Linked DNA regions of Homo sapiens: regions 1 and 3 are each linked to region 2. Evidence: promoter capture Hi-C in 16 types of primary human blood cells and fetal thymus (Javierre and others, 2016). All regions are on one chromosome and are shown on one strand. Each heading gives the region's core, a stretch centred on a gene start or on the middle of the fragment in contact. The rest is flanking DNA. Distances are from core to core; before and after follow the strand shown. Region 1 holds the start of DRD4 (dopamine receptor D4). Region 2 holds the start of BET1L (Bet1 golgi vesicular membrane trafficking protein like). Region 3 holds the start of MIR210HG (MIR210 host gene).

What was found. The method cuts DNA at HindIII sites, captures the fragments that hold promoters and counts their contacts. A CHiCAGO score of 5 or more calls a contact.
Region 1: a contact is called between the fragment with the promoter of DRD4 here and the fragment with the promoter of BET1L in region 2, in 7 of 17 cell types (total CD4 T cells, fetal thymus, monocytes and 4 more). The highest score is 7.2, in total CD4 T cells.
Region 3: a contact is called between the fragment with the promoter of MIR210HG here and the fragment with the promoter of BET1L in region 2, in 4 of 17 cell types (naive CD8 T cells, total CD4 T cells, fetal thymus and 1 more). The highest score is 6.6, in naive CD8 T cells.

The regions. Positions count from the first base shown.
Region 1 is chr11:635,751-638,676 of GRCh38, reverse strand. It overlaps DRD4 (dopamine receptor D4), which reads right to left and starts at 1,408. Exons shown (of 4, transcript NM_000797.4): 1 at 1,088-1,408. The coding sequence starts at 1,372. RefSeq lists enhancers at 1-452, 453-987, 988-1,521, 2,057-2,590, 2,591-2,926. The HindIII fragment of the contact is 12,616 bases long and covers 1-2,926 here.
Region 2 is chr11:206,149-209,098 of GRCh38, reverse strand. It overlaps BET1L (Bet1 golgi vesicular membrane trafficking protein like), which reads left to right and starts at 1,700. Exons shown (of 4, transcript NM_001098787.2): 1 at 1,700-1,796. The coding sequence starts at 1,778. It overlaps RIC8A (RIC8 guanine nucleotide exchange factor A), which reads right to left and starts at 1,391. Exons shown (of 10, transcript NM_001286134.2): 1 at 161-1,391. The coding sequence starts at 244. RefSeq lists enhancers at 185-804, 780-949, 805-1,426, 1,973-2,474, 2,785-2,950 and 1 more and silencers at 9-118, 189-478, 479-677, 1,739-1,858, 1,969-2,028. The HindIII fragment of the contact is 6,341 bases long and covers 1-2,950 here.
Region 3 is chr11:566,803-569,936 of GRCh38, reverse strand. It overlaps MIR210HG (MIR210 host gene), which reads left to right and starts at 1,480. Exons shown (of 2, transcript NR_038262.1): 1 at 1,480-1,585; 2 at 2,084-3,134. MIR210 (microRNA 210) reads left to right here and starts at 1,739; the gene lies at 1,739-1,848. RefSeq lists enhancers at 1-548, 3,134. The HindIII fragment of the contact is 23,407 bases long and covers 1-3,134 here.

The DNA of each region.
Region 1 (2,926 bases), core at 159-2,658, 430 kb before region 2:
GCTGCTCTGTTGGCTAAGTTCTCTGTGGGAGACTCGGGCACGTTAATTCATTTCTGTTTCTTCATCTGTAAGACAAGGGTGATGATAGTATCCACATCATAATTGTCTTGAAGATAAATTATAATTAAAAATATGAAGACCGTGCCCAGTGCCCAGCGTAGGACTCCACGTGGAGTGACTCTCTCCAAGGGCAAAGGAGCAGGCAGCCCCTCTAATCCTTCCCGCCGATTTGGGGAGATTAGGAGCTTAAACGTCGTCACTGTGACGTCTGCGGCTCGAAAGGAGCACAGGTCACGCGTGTCCCGTGCTGCTGGTCTCTGCCCCAGCCGCCTGGATTCACTGTGTCCATCAAGGGGAAACCTCGAGTCCCCCTCCCCCACAGTCGGGGACACCGCGTCTCCAGCTCAGCCCTAAGCTGCTTTTCTCTGGCCGCAGAGGGGCTGGCACCAAGGCCGACCCACTCGAGGGCCAGACCTGGTGTGGAGTGTGGGCTCCATCCCCCAATTCCCCCTCAGGCTTCCCCCCAGGGTTCTCAGCAGGGGCCTGGTCCCCACACACCCTCCCCTCCCCTGGGTTTTGTCCAGCCCAGGTCTCCCCTGCGAGCTGTGAGCCTCCTTCTGGGGGTGTGCCAGCATCTGCACTAGGTGTGTGTGGTGGGCAGTGGCTGTGGCAGTGTGTGTGTGTGTGTGTCCCACGGCAGCCAGGGGGCTGAGCCTGCATCTGCCTGTCTGTCCAGCTGGCTGCCCTGGAGGTGAAATCCAGCTACGGAGGGGACTGGGCTTGACAAAGTCGCCTGTTTCCGGGGTCCCTGGATAGAAGGACGGGCATCTCCTGGATAACAGACGCCAAGACAGACGGGGAAGGAGAAGAGGAACGAGGGTCGGGGGACAGACAGCGCAGCGGGTGGAAGGTCGCGAGGTGGCGGCGGTGGGTGTATCGCCGAGGGACAAGGCGCAGCGCCCCTGCCGCCGCCCCAGCTGGAAGCTCCGCACCAGAAAGGGGCCGGGTCGCGCCGGGTCCTCCGTAGGGACAGGGACGGGGAACCGAGGAGCAGGTGAGGATGCTCGTGCGGCCGGACGCGGCTCACCTCGGAGTAGACGAAGAGCGGCAGCACCAGGAGAGCGAGGAGGAGGTCGGCGGCCGCCAGGCTCACGATGAAGGAGTTGGTGGGCGTCTGCAGGGCGCGCTCGGTGGCCACGCTCACGCACACGAGCGAGTTCCCCGCGAGCACCGCGCCGATGAGCAGCACGCCCCCCACCAGCGCCGCCGCGCCCTGCCCAGCCAGCCCCGCAGATGCCCCCGCAGATGCCCCCGCGGCCGGCCCGCGCCCAGCCAGCAGCCCGTCCGCGTCCGCGGTGCTGCGGTTCCCCATGGCGCGCCCGGGCGGGCGCTGAGCACCGCGGACAACGCCGGGTCGCAAGCCGGGGAGTCCCTCCCCTCGGGCACGCCCCGGCCGGACCCTGGTCCCGCCCCCGACCCGCCCCGGCTCAGGGGGGCCCCCGCGGCGCTCCACCGTGAGCCCAGTATTTGCTCATCTTGGAATTTTGCGCAGGGAGAGACGGGCACGTGGACGAATGCGGCGGCCCAAAGAGACGGGAATGAAGCGAGGTGGTGGCCACGGGCAGGCCAGCATCGCCCGGCGCCGCGCGGGGTCCGCGACCCGAGAAACCGACAAGGATGGAGGGGCGGCCAGACCAGGCCCTGAAGCGCGCGGGCATCGACGCCAGCGCCATCCTACCCGGCCCGTGCGTGCGTCCCGGCCCTCGGGCGCTCACCCTAGTCCACCTGGTATCTGGCAAAACCTCCCTCCCAGGCCCGTTCCGCCAGACGCAGAAAGACCTGAGCTCAGGCTCTGCCCGCCTCCCCCGCGGACTCGCCTCGACCTCGTGCGCACCCTCCACGCCCGCTCCCCCTGCCCCCGACTCCGCGCCCGACTCAACCGCCGACGCCTAGCTCATCCCGCCGCCCCCCCCCCGCAGCCTCTGGCCCTCAGCCCCCGCGACCACCACGGTCAGCCGCGGCCCCACCCGTTGCACAGTTGATCCTCGCGTGGCCGCCTCCGAAACTGGGCGGACAGCTGAGCGGTCGACCCCGCTCCCTCCTCCATTCCCTCCGGCCCAAGACCGTGAGCTAGGTAGGCGCCCCTCTGACCCTGGGCAGGGGGTCCCGGGACCGGACAGTAGGTTCGGCTCGCGAGGAGGCCAGGAGAAAGACACGACAGGCCGGGGTAGGTTCCAAACGTGCAGAAGAGAAAGTGCTTGCAAAGCGCAGCAGAGAATTCTATGGACTCTTCACCAAAGAGGGGTGACCTGTGACCTGAGAGGTATTTTCTGTAGTCTGTCACTAAGGGGCCTAGAAGACACTAAAAGGGGGCACCACTCTGTGGGACCCCAGGCGGCGCACATCCTGATGCTCTAGTCTGTTTCTGGGAGGCCTGGAGTGGAGGGGCTGTGCCAGGAATTGAGGCCCCTGACCTCGAAGGTCTGGAGGACACGGGCTAGACGGAGGCGCTGACAGGGCGTGCGTTAAAGGGAGAAATGAGGACTCTGAGAAGGAGCAGGCACCGTGAGCCTCACAGGACAAGGTCACGGGGCTGCGGGGGAAGGGCCTGCACCAGGGACAGGTGTGCACAGGCATCAGGTGCGGCCGCAGCCAGGCTCAGTCCCTCTTGTGCAGATCAGTCTGCTGCCCTTGTGAACCCTTGAGCAAAAGAAGTCACCACAGGAGAGACCACCAGGGACAGGTGTGCACAGGCATCAGGTGCGGCCGCAGCCAGGCTCAGTCCCTCTTGTGCAGATCAGTCTGCTGCCCTTGTGAACCCTTGAGCAAAAGAAGTCACCACAGGAGAGACTGGGACAGTGGAAGTTTCTTCTCTCCCAGGATGGAACCGGGGAGGGTGGCCCTGGGGTCTCCGGCTGGGCGCCAA
Region 2 (2,950 bases), core at 451-2,950:
CTCCCCGCAACACTGCATCCCAGACCTGCCCCCCGCACCCCGCCGCGTCCCCTACGCTTGCTGACACAGCCTCTGCCTCACCCACGCCCTCCCTGCTACCCGCGCACGACCCTGCCCCACCCCCTCCGTGCCCGCCCCCCGGCCTCAGGCGGCCGCTTACCTCCTGGTTGTATGACCGCAGAGCTTCCATAATCACATCCTCCTCACCCGTCTCCACGGCTTCTGCAACCGCCCGGGGCTCCATGGCGCGCCGGGGAAGGCGGGACGGGCCCTTCCTCAGCCGTTCCGGGCCGCAGTTCGCCGGCCCCGCCCTGGCCCAGAAAGCCCCGCGCCAGCGCGCGGGGGAGGCCGGGACGGGGCGCGGCGTCTGGTGGCGCTTTAACGGGGCGCAGCGTCTGGTGGCGCTTTAAGGGGGCGCGGCCTGAGGCAGAACTGGCGGCTCGGAGGTTTTAAGACCCGAGTCGAGGGGCTGAGTCGCTCTGAACCGAACTGACCCCTCTCCTTGTGACCCGCGCTTCTTGGGCCAGAAGTTCCAACAGGAAACGATCTCAGCCCCCACCGTGCCCTGCCACACACACAGTGACGCCCCTCGAGCTCCACAGAACCGATGGGATGTAGAGGGGAAAGCCGAAGTGGAAAGGAATTTTCAGTCCTGGGCCATTGGGTTCGTTAGGCGTTTGCTGGGGAATGCAGGCGAACGGGATTCCCAGGTCCCTGCCTTTGTGGAGCTTATGTTCCAGAGGGGAAGGGGGACAAGGAAAAACAAAAGGACACGAGGCGGTCACAGGGCTGTGCTTCAAAAGAAGCAAAAGGCGACTGCTGGGCTGCAACGGGCTGTGAGGAAGTGCTGTTTTTGCTGACACCGGACGGTGGGAAGTGAGCCGGGAAAAGACTGGAGGAGCCACTCCAGGCAGAAGGAGCAGCACTTGCAAAGGTGGAGGGGCCGAGAGAAAGGGGAGCAACCCAGTCTGGCCTGGACTCAGTTCCCTCTTGAAAAGCAAAGATCCTGCGTGTCCGTTTCAGTGGCCGTCATGAGGATTCAGTGACGCACAGGAAGCGCGATCCACTCGCTCTTCTAACAAGTGCCCGGGAGCAAAGGCGTCTACGGCCCCCAGTCCCCGCGCCGCCTCCCAGTCTCTCTCCCGGCTTCACTTTCCTGTAGTGCGTTCTGTACGGCTGTATTCGACGCGGCGCGCACTCGCAGGCACGAGCGAGGCGCCGATCTCCACTTGACAGAGGAGGCACCCCTGCCCCCACCACACCCAGTGCTCCTCGCGGGCTTCTGCCCGAGGGGTCTGCTCCTTCCTCATGACCCGCCTGTGAATCCTTCCTAACCGTTAGGACCTAACCCACAGAAGCGTCTTTCCACCACCATCGTCTAGGCACTGAGCAAGCAAACGGCCCCGCCCCGCCCCACGTTCACAGGAACACCAAACGTCACATCCGCGGTGCTGCTGTAATCCCAGCACCTTGGGAGCCCGGCAGGCGGGGGCTGCAGTGAGCTGAGATCGCGCCACTGTCTGCGCGACAGTGCTGAAAATAAGCCACAGATATGCCCATCGCTTCCGCGCCCGGCAGTTCCCCACCCTCGGCCCTAAGCCGGAAGTCAGCGAGCCCGAAGCGGAAGGGGCTGGGCTATCTAGGGGCGTGGTCGGTGCGGAGGCGGGGCCATCGCTAGCTGGGGGCGGGGCCGGAAGCTCTTTCCCCGCGACTGCGCCACGTCTGAGGCGGCTGTGGCCGCGTCGGTGTCCGCGTCGAGGAGCCGGGGCAGGGCACGATGGCGGACTGGGCTCGGGGTGAGCGCGGGAGAGCGGAGCCGTTGGGGGCAGGGCCGGGCCGAAACCGACGCCGCTGCCTGTAGAGCCGCGTGCGCCTGCCTCTGGCCCAGCTGGGGTGACCTCGGCCGAGAGGACCCTGTCAGGGGGGCGGATTCGGATCCTTCCGGGTCCGAGCAGGGCCGGGTTTCGGCCGGCACTGCCGTTAGGACCGAAGGCGCGCGTGGCGGCCCAGCAGCTCCAGCGAGGGGTCGCGCAGCAGCGGGGTCTCCCCACTCCCCGCCGCCCCCTGTGAGATCGTTCTGCATGGGTTCGGGGTGAGCGGGAGTCGGCATTCGACAGGTCCCGAGGCCAGGCCCTAGGAGTAGAGGCTGTGCTCCGCTGGTGTCCAAGCAGGACTCTTACTTTGGCCTCGGTGGCCCCATTTCCCCTCCTGGAGCCCGTGTTCTTGTCTGCAAAGTGGGATATTGATGCCTGTCTCTGTGAGGTGTTATGATGATTAAAGGAATTTATAAATATGAAGTGGCTGGAAGGACGCTGGCATCCCTTCCTGACACTGAAGCTAGGGAGGAGGTGGTTCTCACGCACCTGATGTGACAGAACTTCCTTATCCCCTGGCCCAGCCTGTCACAGGCCAGGCCTCTGCGAGCACTCTGCCCTGGGTGTTGCAGGAAGCCCCATGCGGGATGCAGACCAAGGATCCCGCTCCTGGTCGACCTCAGCTCCCGTCTCGGGGAAATTGGGAACTTTGCTCAGCCATTTTCTGTGCGGTAAAGGGCCTTCCCAATGTTCTGTCCTGGTTCCTTGCCACCTCTTCAGGACCTAGCTCAAAGGTCGTCTCTGCAGGAGCCTTTCTGCTGCCTTGCTGGGTACTTTTCCCAAGTCTTTTCTATGCTCTTAGCAGAGTTTACTCTTTTTCTATAAGAATGGGCTCCACATACACAGATGGTGACCTCCCTGGATGCAAGTGTCACATCATACTAGCACCCCAGGGCTGGGTCCAGTTTTTGCTACACAGTCTCAGAAGGTGCTGGTTGGACCGAACCCATTGTGGGTGCTTGCCCATCCCCACCTTGATGTGTACACAGGACATGTGTTCACATGACAGGCCCTTACACACATCGTCCTTTATGCAGCCTGTCTCATGTGCAAGATTCACCTGCTGGAACCTTGGT
Region 3 (3,134 bases), core at 231-2,730, 360 kb before region 2:
GAGCCTCTGCCCTGCCATGAAGACGTGGGCCTTCTCAGGGACCCCACTGACTCTTAGAGGCTCCTTCACGACCCACAGGATCGAGGTCTTGCTGACCCCTGACCCCCAATAGAACCGAGTGGCTCCGTGATCCTCTGGGCACCTTCCCCATCCACAGGCAGCCACAGGTGCAAGGAGCCACTCGGTTCTATCGGGGGCCAAGGGTCAAGGGGTCAGCAAGACCTCGGTCATGTCTTGCTGATCATGTCTGAGTCACCCCAGACTCTGCATCTGAATTTTTGTCCCCAGCCTTCAAGCCCCTGAGGACATGGGCTGGTTCGGAAGCTCCCTGGGGCCCCAGCACTTTGCCGCCGGGGCTGGGGCAGGGGGCAGGCTGCGGCCCAGGCCTGCGCGGATGCCGAGGCAGGGAGGTCATGGGGCCAGGGGAGGACAAAGAGCAGGGCGGTGAGTTTAGGGCCAGGGAGCTGAGGGGAGACGGCCCGGGGCCGAGGACCAGGGTGACAGTGCCAAGGGGGGCCGGCGGCCAAATCTCCTTTGGCTGCCACTTTGGAGCCCCACCCCGGAGTCCGATACTTCCACGTCTGAAGCTGGCCCTGCGAGTCCTAACGAAGGTCAAACCGTCAAGGCTCCTTTGATTTTACACGTTTTCAGCGCACAGACAGGATTCTCTCGCCTCGTCCCCTCAAAGACCGGCACAGGGCTGCGAAGACCCCTGAGCCCTTGAGGCACCCCCTCCAGGCTCCAGAGGCTTCCGCGGAGACAGAGCGCGCAGGAGGGACCCAGAGCCCCCAAGGGCGCCCCGTGGGGGTCGCCAGGCAAACCAGGCAGAGCCAGAGCCCCCTCTTCGCCAGCAGGACGGACCCGGGCGTCCTTTGGGGACCCCAAGCCGCCCGGGGGGTGGTGCGTGCGTCCCGAGGACGCCGTGTCCGGGCCCGCGCAGGCCCCACCCGGGTCACGGCCCGGGATACGTGCGCCGGGCGCCCAGCGGGTTGGGGGGGGCGGGCCCGCGGGACGCGGGTGCGGGGCACGGAGGCGGCCGGGTCGTACCACCGCGCCGCGGGAAGAGGGGCAGCTCCCGGCCGGCCCTGCCGCCCCACGCACACCCGCGGGCGGAGGACCCGTCGCCAGGCTGCGCCCCACGCCCAGCCCGGAAGCCCCGCGAGCCCGGGCCATACCACCGCGCGGCGGGAGGAGGACCACCTCGGGCCGTACCATCCGCCCGGCCGGGGGACGCGCCCTGGCCCCGCCGCGCCCTCGCAGCTGGCGCCCCGCAGGCCCCGCCCGGCAGGTGCCGCCCCTCCCCGGGCAGACGTGCAGAAAAGAACGCGCCGGCCTCGCCCGCGAAGGGCCGCGCGGCGGTGGGCGGGGCGTCGCGAACCCCCCTCGCGCCCACTGGCTGCGTTGCGGTAGGGCGGGCCCGGCTAGGCCGGCCATTGGCTGAGGGACCAGGTCATTTGCATACGGGGCTGGGCGTGGAGCCGCGGGGCCCGGGGCCGGTCGGGTCGGGCCGGGGGGCGAGAGGGTGCCAGCGGCCGCAGCTGAAGTTGGGCCGAGAGCCGGCGACGGCCCCGCGCCGGGGTCGCAGGTGACGCGCGAGGGATCCCAGGTTGGCGGGCGGGGCGCCCCTCAGAGGCCGCCCTCCCGCGGGGGCTGCGGGGGGTCGGGCTGGGCAGGCGCGGCGGGGCTCGGACGCCCAAGTTGGAGGGGACGGGGGTGGGGTCAATCCCTCCGCCCGCCCACCCGGCAGTGCCTCCAGGCGCAGGGCAGCCCCTGCCCACCGCACACTGCGCTGCCCCAGACCCACTGTGCGTGTGACAGCGGCTGATCTGTGCCTGGGCAGCGCGACCCTCCTGGCCCCGTGTCCGGGTCTGGCGGGCAGGCGAGCGGCCACACGGGGACGCGAGGGCAGCTGGATACCGTGGGGAGGGGGTGCCCTATGGACGGGGTGTGCCTGTCTGGCCAGCAGGGACGGCGGGTGGGGGTAAGCGAAATCATTCGGGGGCTTTGCTGCCCTCCGCTTGGTGGGGCTGAGGCTGGGCCAGATACCCTCTTGGAGGGAACTTTCTTTTCCTTGTGTGTCCAGGGTACCAGTGTGCGGAGTTCCTGTTGCCAAGCTGAAGGTGGCCCTGGGCAGGCACAGGTGTGGTCATATCTTCAGCCAACAGGACCATCCTCCGGAGGGCCACCTCTGGGGACTTCCTACGGGAAGAGAGTGACAGATTTGGTGCTTCTGTGTGTTTCTGCCGCTTCAGTGGGGCCGCTGCGGGAGACAGCGGGTGGATCCTCCAGCAGCCTGTCTGCTGAGCCTGCCTTCTCAAGTCTACTGTTAAAATCAGGACCGGGTCGTGTCCGAGCCTACAGGCCCTGTCTCCGCTCCCCAGGCCTGCAGGAGTTGAGGGCTGCACCTGCTCGCTGGAGAGGGAGAGGCAGATTTAGTGGACGCCTGGCATGGACTCGGACTGGCCTTTGGAAGCTCCCTGCCCTGACGGGGTTGCCTGTCACCACTGCGAAGTGAGGCTTGGCAGGACCTGCACCTGAGAAAGGCTGTGTGTGGTCTTGGGGTCCACACCTGCAGAGCTAACTTACTGCCAGACGGCGACTTACTGTGGGCCACCCTCAGTGAACCGGGGTGTCCTCAGCTGGCCCTACAGAGCACTTCTGTGCTGGGGATGAGTAGGAACTCTGGGCGAGGAGGGTCCCAGCGCCGCCCCTCGATACAGCCTGGCTCTGCCCTCTGCCCGTACTTACACCAGGTGGGATCCCTGCCCTGCATTGCCTGGGGATTGGCTGGGCTTGGGCCCGCCCTGCTGTGGAACTGGATGTTTTCAGGGAGCCCAGCCTTTCCTCATGTCAACACAGTTCACAATATAGTTTTCAAAGTACAGTTTAAAACTCAAAAGTAAACTTTTCAGCAACTCAAAGGTTTGCTGAGTGATCTGAAGCACTCTGGCCACTTTTTGGGGCCATGGGATTTGGTTCACCTGAAACAGCCAGTGAGAGGCCGGGTGTGGTGGCTCACACCCGTAATCCCAACACTTCAGGAGGCAGACGCGGGTGATCGCTCACTTGAGATCAGGAGTTCAAGACCAGCCTGGGCAACATGGTGAAACCTCGTCTCTACTAAAAATACAAAA